4 separate regions of the Homo sapiens genome follow, and regions 2, 3 and 4 are each linked to region 1. Evidence: promoter capture Hi-C in 16 types of primary human blood cells and fetal thymus (Javierre and others, 2016). All regions are on one chromosome and are shown on one strand. The core of a region is centred on a gene start or on the middle of the fragment in contact, and the rest is flanking DNA. Distances in the headings are between cores, read along the strand shown. Region 1 holds the start of MTURN (maturin, neural progenitor differentiation regulator homolog). Region 2 overlaps NOD1 (nucleotide binding oligomerization domain containing 1). Region 3 overlaps GARS1 (glycyl-tRNA synthetase 1). Region 4 overlaps NOD1 (nucleotide binding oligomerization domain containing 1).

What was found. Contacts are between HindIII fragments. The CHiCAGO score rates a contact against its expected background, and 5 or more counts as called.
Region 2: a fragment that was not itself captured here is called in contact with the fragment with the promoter of MTURN in region 1 in 1 of 17 cell types (naive B cells); the score reaches 8.3 in naive B cells.
Region 3: a fragment that was not itself captured here is called in contact with the fragment with the promoter of MTURN in region 1 in 1 of 17 cell types (neutrophils); the score reaches 5.2 in neutrophils.
Region 4: a fragment that was not itself captured here is called in contact with the fragment with the promoter of MTURN in region 1 in 2 of 17 cell types (monocytes and neutrophils); the score reaches 5.9 in monocytes.

The regions. Positions count from the first base shown.
Region 1 is chr7:30,132,834-30,138,556 of GRCh38, reverse strand. It overlaps MTURN (maturin, neural progenitor differentiation regulator homolog), which reads right to left and starts at 3,571. Exons shown (of 3, transcript NM_152793.3): 1 at 3,259-3,571. The coding sequence starts at 3,420. It overlaps LOC105375216 (a long non-coding RNA gene), which reads left to right and starts at 3,843. Exons shown (of 3, transcript XR_927146.3): 1 at 3,843-3,953; 2 at 5,102-5,240. RefSeq lists silencers at 2,444-2,623, 2,944-3,083, 3,276-3,653, 3,424-3,673. The HindIII fragment of the contact is 5,435 bases long and covers 1-4,931 here.
Region 2 is chr7:30,427,688-30,433,555 of GRCh38, reverse strand. It overlaps NOD1 (nucleotide binding oligomerization domain containing 1), which reads left to right. Exons shown (of 14, transcript NM_006092.4): 12 at 377-460; 13 at 4,099-4,182. Among named protein-coding and RNA genes, the nearest start is that of LINC01176, 40 kb to the right of the region's middle. The HindIII fragment of the contact is 3,695 bases long and covers 1-3,318 here.
Region 3 is chr7:30,598,071-30,603,616 of GRCh38, reverse strand. GARS1 (glycyl-tRNA synthetase 1) reads right to left here. Exons shown (of 17, transcript NM_002047.4): 2 at 4,720-4,821; 3 at 3,568-3,670; 4 at 2,417-2,558; 5 at 495-583; 6 at 45-121. Among named protein-coding and RNA genes, the nearest start is that of GARS1, 6.0 kb to the right of the region's middle. The HindIII fragment of the contact is 326 bases long and covers 3,588-3,913 here.
Region 4 is chr7:30,446,523-30,451,935 of GRCh38, reverse strand. It overlaps NOD1 (nucleotide binding oligomerization domain containing 1), which reads left to right. Exons shown (of 14, transcript NM_006092.4): 6 at 1-720; 7 at 3,555-3,638; 8 at 4,886-4,969. Among named protein-coding and RNA genes, the nearest start is that of NOD1, 30 kb to the left of the region's middle. RefSeq lists an enhancer at 1,910-2,410. The HindIII fragment of the contact is 498 bases long and covers 2,251-2,748 here.

The DNA.
Region 1 (5,723 bases), core at 2,322-4,821:
AAATTAGGAGACACGATGAAAAATGACAGTGGCTTAGACTATCTAAGCTGCCCCTACTTTAGATACCTTTCTCAAACAACTCTGCTCAGGAGGTACTAATATTATCATCCCGATTTTACAGATGTAGAAACTATGGCATAGAGGCCAGGTGCAGTGGCTCACGCCTATCATCCCAGCACTTTGGGAGGCCAAGGTGGGAGGATCACTTGAGCCCAGGAGTTCGAGACCAGCCTAAGTAACGTAACAAAACCCTGTCTCTACGAAAAATAGAAAAATTAGCTGGGCGTGGGGTGCACGCCTTTAATCCCAGCTACTGGAGAGGCTGACGCACAAGAATCACTTGAACCCGGGAGGCAGAGGGTGCAGTGAGCCAAGATTACGCCACTACACTCCAGCCTGGGCGACAGAGCAAGACTGTCTCAAAAAAAGAAAAAGAAAAAAAAAGTATGGCATAGAGGGGTTAAATAACTTTCCCAAGGCACACAAATACGGGGAGCTGAGGTGCAAACCCAAGTAGTCTGATCTACAGCCTGTGTGCTTAACCACCACACCACACTGCTTCCTAGACAAGTAAAAATTGCCCCAGGAACATGAAGGCAGAGACCCTATTTGTATTCTAGATAGCACTGGCCTGGCACAAAGTAAACCCTCAATAAATGTTTGTTGAATGAATGAATGAATGATGTGGAAATACTTTTGTAAATTGAGAAATGCTCATGTAGACATTCTTATTGCTAAGTCCTTCAACTAATAGAAATTCCATTGATCTCACACTTTTGTCTAATGCTTAATACATTTTCCAGGGAAAAAGAAAAGAACTAAGGCAGGACACTTATTAGAGGCAAACAGTAGCTTGACAAACCTGGCCTGGGACAGATTCAAGAGGTCCGGCTAGGAAAACTCCCGAGGTTGGCATCTTGTCCATTAGAGCCTCCAGAACTTGGAGAAAGTTCCATTCTACCCAAGGAATCATCTGCCCACCCCCATCCTCTATCTTTCTATCTATTCTATTTAAATTGTCAGTTTACATGACACTTTCAAGCATTTTTCTCATGCAGATGGGAAAATATTTAAAATCTGGGTGGCCTCAAGAGAAAGGCCTGATACAAATAATATAATACTTCTTACTTCTGAACGATGGTTGGATACACATATTCATGGCAAGAGAACAGCCTTTTGTCTTCCTGGCCCACTTACTGTCTTTGGAGTCATTTCTTTGGGTATGGCCTGGGCGGTCCCAGCAGGAAGGCTGTGTGGGCTTCTCCCCAGTGAAATCCAGAACCATGAGCCATTCTTGCCCTGTTTCACACGGTCAGGAGGGAGAAAGGGCGCTGGCAGATGAAGGAAGCCCAGAGCTGGAAGGGACCCTAGCCAAACCCTAACATTTTACAGTCAGCTGGATTCTGGTGCCCTTTCCACTGTATCCTGGGGGCTTTCTCACACTTTTGCAATGGAGTGAATCCCTTTTTAATGATCTCCCACTCCTTCCAAAAAGAACACTTATTTACTTACTTTACCTACAGTTAAGATGGGCTTACAGGCATTAATATTATTGTTCAGTTGGCTCTTCTGGAGGTATTCTGATTAGCCCCATTTTACAGGTGGGAAAACCAAGGCTCTTTAAAAAATGAGACAAGCTCTAAATTCTGGGAAACCCCAGGTCTCTAACCCCAAATTTGTGGGGCTCTTGCTGTGTGTTAGGGACTATTCGGTGCGTTACCTATATGAACGCCTGGGTGCTGGCATTATTATACCTATTTTTTTGGATGTGGAAACTGAGCTCAGGGTGGGTATTTGAGCACAGTCACAGAGCCAGAACTCAAATCTGGCTGTCACACAAGGCCATCCCTCTTCTGGAGTGCCACTTGTGGAATGCCCAGGTGGATCCCTGCCCTCCTCAGGGGGTGCGTGTGGGCGGAGGGAATGCTTTATCGGCCAGGCATACATAAGCCTTCACCTCTCCAGGACCAAGAAAGGCGGTCTTGCAGTCTCCCTAACTCCTTCGCGAACTTCCCGTAGGTGGTCAGGGCGCTCGGCGGCAGGACCACGGCCCAGCTTTGTCTCCCCCACCTGAGGAGCGTGCACCAGGCCGCGCCCCGCACCACCCCACCTCCGCCCACAAGGCCCGCGACCACACGGTCACCCGCGCCCACGGCCGCCTCCATCTTACATTTGGGGATCATTATTTATTCCCCGACCTTGGAAACACTTCATGAGCACCGTGCTCGCCCTACTCCACCCCTCCCACCCCGACTCCCCTGCCCTCCGCATCCCCTTCCTCAACTGCCAGAGTCGGGATCCCAGGTGGGTGCAGGATTCAAAGTGGAAGGTTTGGACACCGCAGTCCCAGTTCCCGGTCCCTCTGAGCCGGGGCTGAGGGGATTCCCCGTCATCTGGAAAAGCCAACGGGCTTCAGCAGGGCCAGGGCACCGCCTCGGCTGGAGAGAACCCGCCCGGGCCACACACACCTCTCGGGCAGCTCAGAGAGGCAGCGAGGGCAGCGCGGGGGCAGGGGGAGAGGCGTGCCGCGTGTGCGCGTGAGTGTGCGCGTGTGAGGGTGAGGGTGTGAGCATGTGTGTGTGTGTGTTGGGGTGTATGCGCAGGCGCGCGTGCGTATTAAGATCCGGGGTGTAATTCCGCAAAGAAGGTCCAGGAGATCGGGCATCGCTAGTATGGACAGAGCTTTGTGTCCAAACAGGCAGTGCAAGGACTAACCCGCGAGGGCGGGGAGTGGGGTTCTCCCGGGAGGGGCAATGCGAGGAGCCGAGGCTGGGCACCGGAGGGGAGCGGGATTCCTATCCCGGACGGGACGCCTGGATGTGGGAAGCTCCGGACCTGGGCTCCTGCCGGAGGGTCCGTGCGCCCCAGACCCGGCTGGTCCGACGCGGGTGACACCCACACCCCAGGGATGCTCCATGCCAGGCACCGCGCACGGGCCGCGAGGTCGGGTTCCCGAAACGGCGCCCGCAGCAGCGGGGAGAGGAGTGGCCTTTAGGGGGACGCCACACCTCCCGCCCCGACCCGGCTCCCCGGATCCTCCGGGCGCCTTGCCCGCCGCCCACCGGGCCCCACCCGGGCAGCGGAGCCCGCACCGCCCGGCCCGGGGCTTCCCCGGCGGAGCACGCGGGGCGCGGGGCGCGGGTTACGGCCCCCCACTCTGCGCCCACCGCCGCCCACCGCGCGGGAGCTCGGGCGCAGGGACGCACCGCCGCGTCCACACTCCCGCCGGCTCCGGCGGTCCCTCCTCCAGGCACTCACAAAATTGTCGCCGCAGCCGTTGTCCGGACACAGCACATAGAAGGAGACGCCGGGGTCGGCGTAGAAATCCATCCTGCGTTCGGTCTCCTCGGTGGCGATGAGCTCGAAGGGCGTGTTGGAGCACCATTTCTCCGCAACGTCGGCCAGCTGCTGGAAATCCATCGCGGCCCCGCGCCCGCCTCCCGCCGCCGCCCGCCCTCCCGCTCCTAGGCGCCCTCCTCCCGGGCGGGCAGCGCGGCGCTCGGCTCGGCCTGCGCGGGCTCCTCCGGGGCCGGGCTGGGCCGGCTGGGACTGTTTACATGCGGTGCGGAGTGGGGCGGGCGGCGGCCGGGGACAGCGCGGCGCCGCGCCCGCGGCTCCTCCTCCGCCCCGCCTCCCCCCGCCCCCTTGCGGGCCGCCGTGGGGGTTGGCGCGGCCGGGCCGGGACGCGGGGCGGCGGGAGGAGCGGCCGGCACCCCCGCGGGCGCCCGGATTTTCCTGGGCGCTCCCGCCCCCCCTTTATTTTTAAACAAACCCGGAGCATCCCGGGGCCCTGGCCATCGCGGTGCCGCCCCGGGCCGTGACGTCATGGGCCCCAGCCAATCACCGGAGCCTGAGACCGCGCCGCGGCTTGCGAGCCCGGTGACGTCACAGCGCGAGCCTGGAATCCGCAGCTCCGCGGGTTACCTGGAAGCGGTGCGAGCGCCCAATACCTGGTTAGCGTTTCTGTGGAGTTAGAAAGCCCAGGAAGCGTTTGCCCAAATGCGATTTAAATGCAAGGGAGGCCATAGAACTGCAGATAACTTGGACCTTGTCTGGGGCTAGCAGTGGAGGAGCTGAGAAAATCTAAGGAAAAGGGAGCTTTTCTTTTTGCAGAAACCAAAGTTCTGTTCTCCGATTGATTTAAGGGAATGTGTCTTCTTAATGCATTTATCAGACACTAATATGAATGTTCACTTGCAAAGGGCGTGTGTGATTTTTTATTTGCGTTACGTAAAGCTGAATATTTCTTAGAAATGAGCCTCATAAGACTGGCTTCAGTATTATTCAGCTTGAATTCACATTGCATAACCTAAAAAGGTCAAGAGGATAAAGCACATTTTAAAACAAGAGTGTGTGGCCCAACGATTGCACCTGTTGAGTGCTCACTGGCTGCCATATACTGGACAGGCATTACTGGATTGCAGAAAATGCACTAGGGTCCTCGCCCTCAGGACTTGAACACTACAAACACAGACACGTTATAAACATTCAGCCAGCTTTTTTCTGTAAAGTGTGTCTTCTGAACCAGGCACTGTGCACGAATTTACATTCCCACCAACACGTATATATGTTTCCTTTTCTCTGCACCCTCACCAACATCTGCTGTTTTTTGACTTTTTAATCATAGCCATTTTGACTGGTGTGAGATTGTATCTCATTGTGGTTTTAATGTGCATTTCTCTGATAATTAGTGGATGTTGAGCATTTTTTCATATGTTCGTTGGCCACTTGTATGTCTTTTTTGAGAAATATCTGTTCATGTCCTTTGCCCACTTTTTAATGGGTTTTTTTTTTTTCTTGTTGAGTTGTTTGAGTTCCTTGTAGATTCTGGATATTAGTCCTTTGTCAGATGCGTAGTTTGCAAATATTTTCTCTCATTCTGTAGGTTGTCTATTTACTCTGTTGATTGTTTCTTTTACTGTGCAGAAGCTTTTTAGTTTAATTAAGGCCCATTTGTCTATTCTTGTTTTTGTTGCACTTCCTTTGGGGTTTTAGTCATAAATTATTTGCCTAGGCCAATGTTGCAAGGAACTGAATTCTGCCAACAACCCGAATGAGCTTGAAAAGCAGATTTTTTTCTCAAACTTGTTGTCTTTTCCAGACAAGAACTGAGCCTGACTATTACCATGATTGCAGCCTTCGCAGAACCTGAGCGAGAACCCAGTGATGCCATGGCTGTGCTGGGACTTCCGACTTTCAGAACTGTGGGCTATTAAATGGGTGTTGTTTTAAGCTGTTAGGTCTGTTTAAATTCTTCATGCAGCAGTAGAAAACTAATACACAGGACAATGAAGGAGACAGGCACATGAATATAAAAATGCAATATGCTGTTGTAAAGTTACAAAATGGTCCTTAAAAAAAAAAAGTATGGGTGTCTCCAGATAGCACAAGCTTCCTTGCAGTTTTACCTGGCACCACCATTTAAAGCATAATATGTGTTCCAAAAATGAATTCCTTAAATTGGAGATGAAAATATGAAAAATACATTCCTTTTTTCCTTTTTCGGGAAAGAAGGAGTTTTTTTTTTAATCCATGTGTTTTAAAATGTATCAGTCAAATTTGCTCCAAGTGATGTGATCAGAATTATGAAGTTATGTTTATTTAACAAATAGTTTTTGTCAGAAAATGAAAAACTCTTATGAAAAATAAAATTTTGGGTACAAAGCAATTGGTCAATGAAATGGATACCGTTGGGTTTCCTTAGAAATGCACTGAGAGCAACA
Region 2 (5,868 bases), core at 222-2,721, 300 kb before region 1:
ACTGTCAGTGGTGTTCAAGGGACCCTGGGACTAGAGGAGAACTGAGAAGCAGGCATTGGCCCTTTGTTTTCCGTGGGCCCCCATCTTCCATGAAATCTGAGGGCTCAGCAAAGGTGGGGAGGGAGGGTGGGCTCCTCTACAGGTAGCTGGGCTAAGAAATAGGAGCCCAGGTACAGGATTTGCATTAAAAATGAGTCCCATTGACCTTCTGTGGGGCTGACAGGCTGGGCTTGGAGCCTGGCTGTTTTCTGGGTTCTCAGCAAGTGATCATCTGCATAGCTGGAGAGCCTTGGGCTGAGCTCCCGCTCCTGTGAACTCTAAAACAATGTCTGCCAAGTAGGCTCTCTTGAGTAAATACTTCCTTTTTTTTCCTTAGGCTGACCCAAAATGAACTCAACGATGAAGTGGCAGAGAGTTTGGCAGAAATGTTGAAAGTCAACCAGACGTTAAAGCATTTATGGTAACTCAGAGAGCCTTACAATTTCAGACTGTGCTACTTTTCAAAAGTATTTTTTGAGATAAAATTTACATACTGTAAAATTCACTCTCTTAAAGTATACAATTCAGAGGTTTTTAGTGCAACCATCACCACCTAATTCTAGAACATTTTCACTCCTCCTCCCCACTCCAAAAAGCCCTGGTATCCATTAAGCAGTCACTCCCTGTCCTCCTCCCCAGACCCTGGCAACCACTAATCCGCTTTCTGTCTCTATGGATTTGCCTACTCTGGGCATTTCATATAAATGGAATCAAGCAATATGTGACCTTTTGTCTCTGTGTTCTAGCATGTTTCATTCCTTTTTATGGCTAAATGATAATTCACTCTAAGGAAATTTTGCAGTTTATTAATCAGTTGATGGGACATTTGGGTTGTTTCTACTTTTTGACTATTATGCGTAATGCTACTGTGAACACTCCTGTTCATGCTTTTGGGTGAACATATGTTTTCATCTCTTTTGGGAATATACCTGGGAATAGAATTTCTGGGTCATATGGCAATTCTGTAACTTTTTGAGGAGCCACCAAACTGTTTTCTAAAGTGGATGTACTATTTTACATTCTCGCCAGCAATGTATGTGGATTCCAATTTCTCCACATCCTCACCAACACTTATTATTGTCCATCTTTTAAAATCTAGTTATACTAGTGGATGTGAAGTAATATTGTGGTTTTGATTTGCATTTCCCTGATGACAACAATGTTGAATGTCTTTTTATGTGCCTACTGGGAGTCTGTATAGCTTCTTTGGAGAAATGTCTCCATATCCTTTGCCCATTTTAAAATTGGGTTTGTCTTCTAATGCTGAGTTATAGGGGTTCTCTATATATTCTGGGTGCTAGACCTTTACTAGATACAGGTTTTGCAAGTATTTTCTTTCTTTCTGTGGAGTTTTTCCTCTTTCTTGATAGTGACCTTTAAAGGACAACAGTTTTTAATTTTTGTTTTTTTTGAGATGGAGTCTTGCTCTTGTCACCCAGACAGGAGTGCAGTGGCATGATCTCAGCTCTCTGCAACCTCCACCTCCTGGGTTCAAGCGATTCTTCTGCCTCAGCCTCCTGAGTAGTTGGGATTACAGGCATCAGCCACCATGCCTGTCTCATTTTGTATTTTTAATAGAGATGGGGTTTCACCATTTAGGCCCAGGCTGGTCTTGAACTCCTGACCTCAGGTGATCCACCTGCCTCAGCCTCCCAAAGTGCTGGGATTACAGGCGAAAAGCCACTGCACCTGGCCAATAGTTTTTAATTTTGATGAAGTCCAATTTATCTATTTTTTTCTTTGGTTGCTTGTGCTTTCAGTGTCTTATCTAAGAAATGATTGCCTAATCCAAGATCACAAAGAACTCCACCTAAGTTTTCTGTTAAGCGTTATAGTTGTTTCCCCTCACATATAGGTCTGCAATCCATTTTGAGTTAATTTTTGTATAGTGTAAAGTGAGGGTTAACCTCATTCTCTTGCACGTGGATATCCAGCTGTCCCGGCAGCACCACGTGTTGAACAGATTATCTTTTCCTATTGAATGGCCTTGACACCCTTGTCAAAAATCAATTGACCATAAATGTATGGGTTTATTTCTGAATTCTCTGTTCTGGTCCATTGATTTATATGTCTCTCCTATGCCAGGACCATTGCTGTAGCTTTGTGTAGTACATTTTGAAATCAGGAGGTGTGAGTTCTACTTTGTTCTTCTTTCTCAAGATTGTTTAGACCATTCTGGGTTCTTTGCATTTCTTATGAATTCAGACTCACCTTGTCAATTTCTGCAAAAAGACTAGACTCTGCTACATATTGTTTTTTCTTTCCTTTTTAGCCTGCAGAATTATTTGATCCCATTCCCTAAGTGCAGGCCAGCCTCTCCAGGGAGAGCAGAGCTAGGACAGGGTCAGAAAGAGAGTCTTGGCTGCTTTGTGCATTCCCAACCTGCACTGGCCCTAGTGAAGGCAGCCCGAGTGGGTGGATGTGCCTGGACACTGCAGGCTTTTTAGGGGCATTAGGTGCTCTCCTTCCTGGCCTCCTGCCACATCTTGGTTGGAGGCTGCCTTCCCTGCCTTCAAAAAAGCCTAAGTGGTGACTAGAAAACAGCAGAGTGTAACTGAATACAGAACTTGGTGCCCACTTCCTGGTTCTATTTTTGTCCCTTTTGAAAGGGAAGGTCATTACCTCTGCCATTGAACCCAGGGGCCCTAGCCCTTGTGGGGTATGGCTGGGAGCACCAGATCCTGGCTGCAGCCCAGCCACCAGTGGTCCTGTGTGCTTGGGCAGTAACAGTGACAAGAGCTCCCTTCCCCCTGGACACTGTGCCTAATACCCTCCTCTTGAAATCTCACACACCCAGTGGATGGGGGGCACTCTTATAGTTATTCTCAGTTTACAGATGACACAACTGAGGCACAGACAGATGCGTTTATTTCTTCAAGGTTCTGTAGCTGAACAGTGGGGAGGGAGGGTTTAAGAGGAGCTGCACCCGCTCTGCAATACTGCCTCTCACGAGGGAGTCCTCTTCATTCATGACAGCATAGGGCCCTCGTCTTCCTGGTAAGGGCTTCCTTCTTGGGTCAGTGCCAGGATTTCTAAGGGTCATGTTTAGCAGGAGCCTATTCTACAAACAGCCAGGAGCAGGGAATGACTCTGTGATGAAGCGGAGACACTACAGCCTCTTGATGCATTTATTTCCTGGTTGGGTTAGAAGCGTAGCTGCCCAAGGGAGCATTTCAGGAGAGGCCTGGCTTCCTAGCGATAGCTGAAAACTTTGTTTCATTTGAATCACTGCTACCCAGAACAATGGGGTGCATTCTCAGAGTCCCCATTATTAAAGCTTTTCCACTGAGCCCCATGAGAACTATTCATGAGAACTATTTCATGGCAGCATAACTGTTTCTCCTCCCTCCCTCTTGCATGTTGGTAGCCTCTTAACTTTAAAACCTGCCTTGCCTTTCCCTAGCTACCTGGAAGGAGACGTCAGACTTCCTGTCCCATGGTGTGTTTCTTACAATTTGTTGTTCAGATTGGTGGTCTCCCAAATATATATAAAAATATAAATGGAGTCTCACTCTGTCACCCAGGCTGGAGTGCAGTGGCACGATCTTGGCTCACTGCAACCTCCACCTCCCAGTTCAAGCAATTCTCCTACCTCAGTCTCCCGAGTAGCTGGGAGTACAGGTGCACACCACCATGCCCAGCTAATTTTTTTGTATTTTTAATAGAGACAGGTTGGCCAGGATGGTATCGATCTCCTGAGCTCGTGATCCACCCACCTCGGCCTCCCAAAGTGCTGGGATTACAGGTGTGAGCCACTGCACCCGGCCCCAAATATTTTGATTATGCACCTCTGCAGTGAAAAATGCAAACACACACATCAGTTCATGTATTACATTATGTTCACTATAAAAACAAACAGAAAATTTAAAAAATATCAAGCTATCCTTTACTCTAGTGGATCTTACCTGGACACTTTTAGCCAGATACAAAGTCACATGGACTCAGTTCTTCCCCTGACCAACTTGTCTCTTATCCCAAAACACCCTTGCAACTCCCTTACGAAGGGGTCAAATTTGATCCAGTATTATGGATTTTATACAAGTTATGTTCTTCTTTCAGGCTTATCCAGAATCAGATCACAGCTAAGGGGACTGCCCAGCTGGCAGATGCGTTACAGAGCAACACTGGCATAACAGAGATTTGGTAAGATCCCAGCGTTTGTCACAGTAATAACACCAGTGACTGTTTACTCACCACCACTGACTGTGCAAGGCACAACGCAGGGTGGTTTCTGTTTATTCCTCCAGCAACCCTGCACAGTAATGGTATTACCTCTGTTTTACAGAGGTAGACAGAGGCCCAGACCAGTGAAATAAGGTTGCCCAAGGTCACTACGAGAGAAGCTAGAATTCAGCCCAGAATGCCTGATTCCATATTCTGTGCTCTCCTGCCCTGGGCCCCCGCCCTCATCTACCTTCATTGGGTGGGATGGGGGAAGTGGCCAGTGAAATGATTTCCTAGTGGAAGTAAATCCCCCTGGGACTCAGCAATTGAGAGATGACTGTGTTGGCCAGGAGTTTGGAGCTCATTCTTCCCCTTTTCTGGGTTCCGTAAGACATTTCCAGGCTGACTTGAACTGACCTGTGCTCTTTGTCTACTTCTTTTTTCTGCTTTGAGAACTTCCTTATGCTAATAGAAGAAAAAAAGTTTGCTTTACTGTGACATTGAGCGCCATGCCACTTCTTTCTTGCCTCCCATAAGGCACAGACACTCCCCACTCAGCAGCTCCCTTAACAACTTAATTGCCTGGGTGACGTGGGACTGGGTGGATGCTGGGAGAGGGGCCTTATTAACTATGTCCTCCTTTCATGACTGGGGAGAATTTCATAGCCAATTAAAAAAAAACAAAAAACAGCTCCTTGGCCAACACAGGCTCCTCATACAGTGTTTTTTAAACTTTGCTTTAGAACTTGTTTGGAACTTGTCATAAAATCGATCAGTTTGGTGAATTGCAACCAACAATATTTAAAAAGAAAACAGAACAGAACAAAATATCAGGATGCAATGTGCATGGTATGAAAGTATCATTTCATTCATCTTAGTTCATGCTTGCATGTGAGTGGGTGTGTGTTTGCATAAGTGTTGGTTCACAACATAAAATGTAATTCTTATTTAGGGTTGTAGACAAAAGGTTTTTTTTTAAAAAAAACACTGTTGGCTAGGCATGGTGGCTCATGCCTGTAATACCAGCACTTTGGGAGGCCAAGATGGGCAGATCTCTTGAGCACAGGAGTTTGAGACCAGCCTGGGCAACATGCGAAACCCCGTCACTACAAAAATTAGCCCGACATGGTGCTATGTGCCTGTAGTCCCAGCTACTCAGGAAGCTGATGTGGGAGGATGGATGCATGGGAGATCAAGGCTGCAGTGAGCCAGGATCATGCCACTGCAATCCAGCCTGGGTGCCAGAGACCCTGTCTCAAAAAACAAAAAAGAAAAAAAGAAAAACACCATCATAGAGAATAGAGCCCAGATCTAAACAGACACCTGTGGCCTGTGTGCCTGCGAAGCCCAGCCTGCCCAGCAGCCTGGGAAGCACTGGAGGGCACTGGAACTGTTTGCATGGGTGTTTGCCCTCAGGCCACTCCGTTTCTGCTGATTCTTAAGTTTTGAGGACAGCAGGCAGAGGGGGAGAGGAAGGAGACTGCCAGACTACAGAACAGTTTGCAGAGCACAGTTGGCTTCCACTTTTCTCTGTAGCTGGTCAGGCGGGTAGTAAAGACCTACAGTTGCTTTAATTCTGTCAAGTTTCAAAATCTGCATTGCTTCCCTCTTGAGGGTCACCATTCCTACACAAGGAACCATTTTAGTAGGGCCAGGAGACTTCAG
Region 3 (5,546 bases), core at 2,501-5,000, 460 kb before region 1:
AGCGACCACCTAGGTTACTCTGATAACATCTCTAGAGTACTCACCTGGGCCAAAACACTTTCCATTTCTGATTTCTTTTCGACAGAACACTTCTTATCAGACATCAATTTCTGTAAATGAGCTGTAAGAACAGTGTTGACATATATCAATCAATGGGAAAAAGGACAATGCACTTTTCAGTTTCAATGCTAGACAATTAAAAAGTAAATCCAAGCATAAAGTTCTTAATTTACATGAATCCCACAGTTGATTTTACAACAGCAGTCATGGTATTGTCTTGATTCATTTGCTAATTAGAAAAATTATCTGTATATAACTAATTATCTACATATAACTTTTTTAAAAAATAAAGGACTTGATCTATATACTTAAGATCTGTGCACTTTGCTCTTTGAATGTTATGCCTCAATAAAAAATTTAATGAAAGACATCTGAGAGAAAGTTTAAACCTTTTATTTTGATCAATCCTACCTGAAGGAGATGAAGAACCTCACCTTTTAATAGATGGTCAGCACGAAAACATTCTCCATTTTTTACGTCTTTCACCATGAAGTCAGCAAATTTGTCTACATGGCCAGAGGTCCTAAATTAACAAATGCCAACCCAATTTGTCATTCTCATACAAATTACACATAGATATTACCTTATAAGATAATTCCCCATCAATATTTATATCCATCTCAAAGATGGAAGCTCCCATATCTATAGTAATGATGTATCCATGACAGTAATGGATGCCAGAGAAAATTCTTCCTCAAATCTATTTCTCACCCTCTCCCACATTCTTCCTTCCCATAAGAAAGAAGACATTAACTAGACAATAAAAAGACAATTCTTTTCTACAAGTTGTCATAAAGTCTGTACTATTCTTCAGGATCAATTAATCCATGCCTATGCCATTATTATTAGTGATCTAAGCAAAGGCCAAAATCACTGGGAATTTGACTAGTTAAGAATTCATGGCAGCTCAGTATAGACATTGAACCTTAAGGGAAGTGTTTTCTGCCACTGAAACCTGTACTGACATTGGTATTATCTCTACAAAGTTCCTATTGGTGGAACAAGTAGCTAAAATGATAGGTAGTCCTGATCTTATAGAGCCATCATTCAGAATTCCTCCTCTTCATTGGCTGAAATTATTAAGAGAACCTAACGGATGCCAATAGTAAAAATTAGCTCTCCACCAGTCAACCTTAAATGAATAATGACGAGTTACAAAATGGCAAGAATTCCTCTTTCAGGCCGGGCGCAGTGGCTCACGCCTGTAATCCCAGCACTTTGGGAGGCCGAGGCAGGCGGATCACGAGGTCAGGAGATCGAGACCATGGTGAAACCCCGTCTCTACTAAAAATACAAAAAAATTAGCCAGGCACGGTGGCAGGTGCCTGTAGTCCCAGCTGCTCTGGAGGCTGAGGCAAGAGAATGGCGTGAACCCGAGAGGCGGAGCTTGCAGTGAGCAGAGATCGCCCCACTGCACTCCAGCCTGGGGGACAGAGCGAGACTCCATCTCAAAAAATAAATAAATAAATAAAAGAATTCCTTTCAGTTTCACATTCTGAAATTCTGCCCTACTTTGGGAGGCCGAGGCGGGCGGATCACGAGGTCAGGAGATCGAGACCACCCTGGCTAACATGGTGAAACCCCGTCTGTACTAAAAATACAAAAAAAAAATTAGCCAGACGTGGTGGTGGGTGCCTGTAGTCCCAGCTACTTGGGAGGCTGAGGCAGGAGAATGGCGTGAACCTGGGAGGCAGAGCTTGCAGTGAGCCGAGATCAAGCCACTGCATTCCAGCTTGGGCGACAGAGCAAGACTCCATCTCACACACACAAAAAAAGGAAATTCTGCCCTACTTTCAATAACGTTGGTAGGAATAATCTAAGTTTCTGCATTGAAACTTTAAAACAAATAGTATTTAACTGAAAATCTCTACAAGTATACCTTTGCTCAGAACTTGTATTAAGGAAATAATCAAGGATATACCCAAAAATCCATCTATCAAGATATTCGGTGCAGTCAAAAATGAGAAACACTTTAATGCTTTCAATATGGCACAAACTAACATATTATGGCACTTCCATAAAACAGAATACTATGCTATCATTAAAAATGCTTTAGATGAATAGTTAATGATATGAGTATATGTTCATCAATATTACATGAAAATAAGCAGTGTACTGCTAACACTGAAATACATAGGGACGTACAGAAAAAACAGGAAGGACAAACACAATCATCTTAACATAGCTATCTGTGAGCAGAAGGTATACATTTCTTTGCTTTTCCATATTTTTCAGATTTTCTACATGAAATGAGTAGTTCTTTATAATCAGGAAGTTATTTAGATAAGTATATTAAATAATTTAATAAGTTATTTTATTTAAAGTAGGATACCCCCACTCCAAAGTAAGATCTCACTTTAAAACTGGCTCAGGGGTGAGCATGGTGCAATCGATCTCCAGGATCTGTTCCTCTTGGATAAAGTGCTGCCTCCAGGTCTGAATAATATTGTTCTTCAAAGCACAGCCAACTGGCCCAAAGTCATACAGACCACTAACACCTATAGAATATGAGAGGAAAACACATACTTTACCTTGTTACTCTGAACAAATGAAGGCAAGGAGACATGAGAAACTGATACCTATACTCCCTAAAAGTGTATTCAAGTCAACAATGCAAATCCCTCAATACTGAAGAACCTTACTTTCAGCTAGCTGATGGAAGTAAAATAAAAAAGCTCTTACGCCATTTACTAATTCTATATTTGTAATTTCAAGTAGGACTAGCCCAAAATCTACAACAAAAGTTCCCCCTTAGAGAACAGAATGAAAAAGCAGATTACAGTTTTCTGCCGTAAAAATTACAAAATAATTTCTCACCACATCTGATAACAATGATCTATAATTTTAGCATCCAATTCTCTAATTTTTTCCTGGGTATTTGAGGCACTATTTAACCTCAAAAGGGTAAACATTTACAGATCCACTTAGCCAAACTCAAGTCAACTTTCAGTGGCAAAGTACTATATGTCTAATGTTGTTGTAATAATCCGTTGACTATGAAAAATATAGTTTTACATTTCATCAGTGAATTGTATTTGCCTATATACCTTCATATGGCATTCACAGTGATTTATCTACATCCCTGGGAAGAATGTTTTCTCCTGGCAGATGACCATAAAGAATAATCTAAGGACTGTTTTATCACTGCCCCTGTGTGAAGGGGCATAGTATAGTTAGCCAGTACTACAATGGCCCTCTGTTACTCTTCAGTCTCCATTGCATTTTAAAAAGAGTACATGAGTACACAGACACATCAAATACATACATGGGCCTCCAACAATTCCCTACATCCTAATCAAAAAAAGTGCTGTCCAGGAATAAATGCAGTGGAGAAAAATAACAGGTATCACACCAAATGGTGACTCCAAGCAAACAAAAGCAAAACATCCATCCTCTGCTTTGTGGCCTGATACAAGTGGATACCAACAGGCAAGCCATGTTCTTGATTTAAGTATAATATTAGAGCCACTAACAACACAATAGTTCTTTTTGTCATTAATCCCTTACCTCCATAAATAGCAAAAGCTTGATCATAGAAAAACCTCCTCTTCAGGGTATCTTCCATTTTTGCTCGGTCTACAATATCATCTTTGGGCTGTAACGCCAGCTCCTGTTAGAGATTAAATAAAAAGTGAGTGAGTGGAGGGGTGGGTGGGAATCTGAACTTATATATCTGAATTTAGTTTATTCCTCACCAGAATTAAATATAAAATTTATCAAACAGACAAGATTTTGATAGGTTAAAAACAATAGAAGCCATAGGTCTTTTTTTCCCTTTGAGTAATATAAAAGATATCTTTACTTAATCATTTAGGAAAATATATGATCATTTCCAAGATTACAAGACTAAGCTTGACCAGGTGCGGTGGCTCACACCTGTAATCCCAGTACTTTGGGAGGCCGAAGTGGGTGGATCACCTGAGGTCAGGAGTTCAAGCCCAGCCTGGCCAACATGGCAAAACACTGTCTCTACTAAAAATACAAAAATTAGCTGGGCTTGGTGGTGGGCACCTGTAATCCCAGCTACTTGGGAGGCTGAGGCAGGAGAATCACTTGAACCCGGGAGGCAGAGGTTGCAGTGAGCTGAGATCGCACCATTGCACTCCAGCCTGGGCAACAGGGCGAGACTCCATCTCAAAAAAAAAACAAGACTAAGTTTACTTTGATGTAGATACTGATAAGCAATATAAAGCAATATTTGAATTGTCAGTGGATTGCTATAGCAAAATGGTTACTTTAAAACCCCAAAACAACTTAAGTTTGGTGATGGGAGATCTATTGTTTGAAAGGTCTGGGAGCAGGTATCAAATAAACAGACCTTTTCCTTAAAACAAACAAACAAACAAAAATCATTATTTTCAGGCATAAGAGAAGTCGTAAAGAAGAGCACAATCCTTTCCATGGAAATTCATATAGCGTATTGAGTCCAGCATTTGCAGGGTCAGGAAGGCTTTATTAAAAAGTTGACATTTTGAGTTGCATTTTGAAAGGATGAGGAGTCTACCAGGTAGAGGGAAAGGAGAAGGCGGCATTATGGATAAACAGATAAACCAAATGATACTTGTTCAGAAACTTTTCTAGGTCTCTCCCATCCAAAGAAATTAAAGATGAACAATCCTATACCTACTTATGTTCCTATTTTAGCATCCCAGGACTCACCTTTGCTTCCAGAACCCTCTTGCGGGCTTTGAGCTCAGCCACTGCTTTGTCTACGTCTACTTGGGGTGCTTTATCTTCTTTGAGTTTTCGCACAAGATCTCCCTAGCCAAGAAAGAGAATTTATATTCAGGATTGGTTTCAGAAGTTAAGAAATGTTAGGAATGTGTTTTTAAGCGTGCCTTTTAAAAAGTCTATGTAAGAATGATGCAATTCAGGCCAAGCGTGGTGGCTCACGCCTGTAATACCAGCACTTTGAAAGGCCCTCCTCACCATCTGAGATCAGGAGTTTCAGACCATCCTGGCCAACATGGTGATACACCATCGCTACTGAAAATACAAAAATTAGCCGGCCGTGGTGGTGGGCACCTGTAATCCCAGCCACTTGGGAGGCTGAGGCAGGAGAATCACTTGAACCCGGAAGGCGGAGGTTGCACTGAGCTAAGATCATGCTACTACACTCCAGCCTGGGTGACAAAGTGAGACTCCGTCTCAAAATGAAAAAAAAAAAAAAAAAAAAAAAGAATGATGCAATTCAAATGTTTATTATGTGAGTGATCATTATGAATCAAGGTCTCTGCCCTCTTCATTTAATAATCTAGAAGAACACACGGGCAAGTTAACAAATAACTGCTCACATGGTGAATTTTTTCCTTTGGGTATAGAGGGGTGAAAAAGGAGGAGACAAAAGCATTGATTAAAAAGTAGGAAAGAGCAAGATTTGTACTGAGAACACAGAAGAACCAATAAATTGACCACCTTCTTAAATCTCTCTCCTCTCGCTTACAAAAAAAAATAAAAACATTATTCAGTTTTCCTCCCACTTCTCT
Region 4 (5,413 bases), core at 1,250-3,749, 310 kb before region 1:
GCTGGGCTTCCTGCGGGCTTTGCCGGAGCTGGGCCCCGGGGGTGACCAGCAGTCCTATGAGTTTTTCCACCTCACCCTCCAGGCCTTCTTTACAGCCTTCTTCCTCGTGCTGGACGACAGGGTGGGCACTCAGGAGCTGCTCAGGTTCTTCCAGGAGTGGATGCCCCCTGCGGGGGCAGCGACCACGTCCTGCTATCCTCCCTTCCTCCCGTTCCAGTGCCTGCAGGGCAGTGGTCCGGCGCGGGAAGACCTCTTCAAGAACAAGGATCACTTCCAGTTCACCAACCTCTTCCTGTGCGGGCTGTTGTCCAAAGCCAAACAGAAACTCCTGCGGCATCTGGTGCCCGCGGCAGCCCTGAGGAGAAAGCGCAAGGCCCTGTGGGCACACCTGTTTTCCAGCCTGCGGGGCTACCTGAAGAGCCTGCCCCGCGTTCAGGTCGAAAGCTTCAACCAGGTGCAGGCCATGCCCACGTTCATCTGGATGCTGCGCTGCATCTACGAGACACAGAGCCAGAAGGTGGGGCAGCTGGCGGCCAGGGGCATCTGCGCCAACTACCTCAAGCTGACCTACTGCAACGCCTGCTCGGCCGACTGCAGCGCCCTCTCCTTCGTCCTGCATCACTTCCCCAAGCGGCTGGCCCTAGACCTAGACAACAACAATCTCAACGACTACGGCGTGCGGGAGCTGCAGCCCTGCTTCAGCCGCCTCACTGTTCTCAGGTGAGGCTGCCAGGCAAGGGGAGCAACAGGTGGGCCGGGCGGGCCAGGCTCGGAGGGCATCGGGAATGGCATCATGGACCAGGATCCCCCAGGACTCATGACCATGGCCCTTGGAATGTCCAGACCTTTTCTTTCTTAGCAGGGCAGAGGTCAAGGTGCAAAGCTTCGAGGCAGGTGGACCTGGATCAGCCACAGCTGGGTGCCCTTGAACAAAGTGCTTAACTCTCAGAGCCTCCACGCCCTCATCTGGAAAAAGAAGATGCTCATAATCCTATCAATTATGGCCACAGGGACCAATGTTAGTTGAGAATGGGTGAAGTGCATTACAAATATTACCTAATGGAATGCTCTTTACAACCCTGTAACTTAGGTACTGTTATTGTCTCTATTTTGGCAGATAAGGAAGTAGAGGCACAGAGAAGTTAATAGCTTGCTTTAGGTCACACAGCTCAGACATAGCAGTGCCAGAATGCATAAAGAACCTTCCTTTTAAGATTAATGTAAGGCTCCGAGATAGCCCTCAAAAAGTTTCTGGAATATGGGAGCTTTTATTACTGCAGAGAAAGCAGACCTTGTGCCAGTTGGCACTGGTGACTTTCTGTGATCAACGCTAGCAGCCCTTCACACTGCTAGAGACCTCAGTTAAAATGCTGACTCGTGGTTGTTTTCCTGTTCCATAGTTTACGGGAAACAGAGCCCAGTCTGTTTTCTTCTATTAGCATTTCCTATGTAAAATAAACCTTGTAAATCTCTACAGGGGGTTAAATTTGCCATTACTTGACTCATGCATTTCTAAAAAGCAGTAGGGATTTGGAACTGACTCCCAGTGCCTGTCACACCAGTGTCAGAGTGTAAATAATTGCATGGGGACATGGGGTGCAGGGGGTCGAAGGCTGCCCTAGCCTGGGAATTGGAAAACCTGGAGTCTGTTCTCTGTACTCTCAGCCAGTGACTCTCCCTCTGTAGCCCCAGGCAGTCTCACACTCAGTGCCACCCTCTGTCCATCTTTTTTTTTTCTCCCCCAAATGGAGTCCCGCTCTGTTGCCCAGGCTGGAGTGCAGTGGCGTGATCTCAGCTCACTGCAACCTCCGCCTCCTGGGTTCAAGCGATTCTCTTGCCCCAGCCTCCTGAGTAGCTGGGATTACAGGCACACGCCACCATGTCCGGCTAAGTTTTTTGTATTTTTAGTAGGACGGGGTTTCCCCATGTTGGCCAGGCTGGTCTTGAAATCCTGACCTCAGGTGATCCGCCCGCCTCGGCCTTCCAAAATGTTGGGGTTACAGGCATGAGCCGCCGCACCCGACCCCTCTGTCCATCTTTTCAATGGGAAACTCCACACCAGTGTGGTGGCCCTGCCCTTCCTGCTGTCCCCAGGTGAAGCTTTCCTTCACACCAGTGCAAGAAAAAACAGCTTGTAGGAAAGCAGAGGATATGGGTAACCACGGGAAGCACACTCAGTTCTCTGGCTGCATCAGTTAGGATTAGTTTTAGCTGAGAGCGAAAACCCCAAATGTTGGTGAGTTACAAGCTTATTTCTCTCATGTAAAAGTCTAGAGGTAGGTAGTTCAGGACTGGTATGGAGTCTCCATGACCCTCCGGAGCCCAGGCTCTCTTCTGCCTTCCTGTTCTGCCATCCTCACTACCCGGCTTTCCCATCTTGGCCCAAGAGGGCTGCTCAAACTCCAGCCATCTAGTCGACACTCTAGCTATCAGTAAGAAGGAAGGGCAAAGATTGAGAGCATGCCTCAATCTTTTAAGAACACTTCTTGGCTATTACTAATTATATTGCTGCTTAGATTTCAGAACTTAATGGTATGGGCAGAATTTAATGAGATGGGCCCAGCTAAAAGATGGGGGAATCTATTGCTAAGAAAGTATAGATATTGGGAATGTCTAGCAGCCTGTGCTGTCTTGGGCTGGCCATGCCATGTACATACACACTATTTCCCAGCACCAAGCTGGGGACTCTGAGGGAAAGGGTCCAGAGTGTCTGACTTGATCATTTTGATGTGGCCTAAAAATCAAGCTTTTAATTGTTCAGCCTTTTACTTGTTATCAAGGTCAGCTTGTGGGTCTAATTGGGCCCAAGGCTTGTGTTTCTAAGTAAAGTTTTATTGGAACGCAGCCATACCCATTTATTTACTTACTGGCTGCTTCACACTACACAGTTGAGTAGCTGTGACAGAGACCACATGGCCCACAGAGCCTAAAATATTTGCTGTCTGACACTTTACAGAATGACATGAGCAGTCTCCTTTGACAGTGGGACTCACAGCCTTTTCCAGTGACAAATCAGGGTTAGCCCATGTGTTTCTGGATGGGGGGAAGCTGTTGGCATTTTGGGTATAACAGTTCTTGTGAGACCTGTCCAGCATTTTGCAGGACACCTAACATCATTGGCCCTGCCTGCAAGATGACAGGGCACTCCCTCCTCCAGTCACAACCACTAAAAGCAGCCCCTGACATTTCCAAACCCATGCCCTCCACCATACGAGAACCAGGTACAGGGTCTGGCTGACACATAGGTCACACGCAAAGGGTGGATGTCAGAGGTGGCTGGCCTCACACGTCCTCCCTGTGTCCTTCACGGTCGTGTGAGGAGCCAGGGGCTGTGCTGCAGCCTCGCTCATGGGCTGGTGCAGGATGGGTCTGGCGGCCCCACGTTGGCCAGGCTTTGTAAGGGGCTATTTGGCTGATTGCTGTGGCCATTCTCCAGGGGCGTCTATACCTGAGAAAACTCCAGGGCCTGAAGGCTTCTGGATCTTTGTAAGATTAATGGTCCTTCATAATGAGTGCCTGCCCTGACTCGTAATTTTTTTGCTGTTTTATTTCAGACTCAGCGTAAACCAGATCACTGACGGTGGGGTAAAGGTGCTAAGCGAAGAGCTGACCAAATACAAAATTGTGACCTATTTGGGGTATGTCTTTCTCCAGAACACTGGGCCAACTACCTAGTAATAATACAGAGCTGCAGGGAATTCACATTCCCATAGGTCCCTGGATGATCGGCACGGATGGCCCAGGGCTGGGAAGAGCGCTGGCCCAGGAGTTGAGAGTCCTGGGTTCTCTTTGTGGCTCGGCCAGTCATGAAGTCTTGCTGAGCCTCAGCCTCCTCACCTGTAAAACTGGGATCCCAGTATAGGCAAGTAGGCTTACAACTGGTTATTGGGGGATGCAACGAGAATATAAGGGGATATATTTAATAAATGCTAGAATCCTGTTTACATATTAGTCTGGACTATTTTGGGTCCATAATCCCTCATCCAGAGCCTTTGGGGCAAGACCCGAATGGGGATTCTGAGTGCATGCTATGGCATGACGTGGCCGCAGGGGTCTAAGGCAGTGCCCCATTTTCAAACACTTTCATATTTCTCCCGCAGAATGTATGAAACAGTCAAACCAAGTGTGGTAAGAAAGACTATAAGTAGCTCCACATCAGTTGCCAAAAGAATTGTGAGAAACTTTGGGCATTCAGAGCCTTTGAGGTTTTGGAGTCTGAGAGAAGGGATTGCGGGCCAGCCCCACACAACTGGTGGCTCTGCAAGCTGGAGCAGTTGTTCAGTTTCTTGGGGCCTCAGTGGCCTTCGATGTTAATGAGGACATGGACGCAAACGACCCCGGGCCACACTCGGCTCCAGGGCTCTGTGTGGCTGTGGAACCCTGGAAGCCTGAGCTTAGCTGCCTTTCAACTTCCATCTGCTGTACTATTGAATTGGCATTGAGCGGTGAGATGGCTGAAAGGTAGACATCGAGAAGTTTTAATATTCAGAATCTTTTCTTCTCAAGACGCTGAATGTAATCTTAGTTGTAAATACCCATCACCTGCCAGTCACCGAGCACTCATGCACCAGGGCTTTGCGTTATGTCCTAAGATCCTCATAACCACCCTGCAAGGGGACTATCATCATTACCTCTGTATTACAGATGGAGAAACTGAGGCACAGAGAGGTAACGTGACTTGTCTCAGGCCATAAAGCTGGGGAAAGTAGTGGAGCTGGTTTTGAACCTGAGCTGTGAGACCTCAGAGCCCTAAACTCTGGTGCCTGTGTGTTCCCCTTTCAACCCAGACTTTGGAAATCAGTAGACACCATATGCTTCAAAAAACAGGGGCTATTAAAATGACATCAGGAGCCAGAAAGTCTCATGGCTGTGCTTTCTCTTGAAGTTTATACAACAACCAGATCACCGATGTCGGAGCCAGGTACGTCACCAAAATCCTGGATGAATGCAAAGGCCTCACGCATCTTAAGTAAGTGGGGTAGGCACCAGGTTCCTTAGTATATTCTCTTGATCACCCCCTTCTGTTGTTCAAAGATTAAATGTCACAGTAAAGAGCTTTCATCCTAAAGCCTTCCACTTGTCCCAGGGCCATGTTGGTCAAGTAAAGATACCTCTGTGTGATCTGTGAGGCTTGGATTCTGGAAGGGCCTCCCGTTATTGGTAGGGGGAAAGGTTGGCATTTTGATTTCATTAACTACTAGGCCGAAGAAAGGACTAACTCTCACCCTTTCTGGTGGTCTTTTTGCCCCAAGGGAGTTTCCTGTCGGGTTGCAAGGAAGAGCTTGGGCCCTTGCCCTGCTGTAGGTGTGCCCTGCGCAGGGGGTGACAGTGCGCCAGGCTTGGAGCCTCTGGTCCTGCCCTGACAGTGGCCACATACCTTGACCCTTGGCAGTCAAAGTGGGACCTCCCAGGT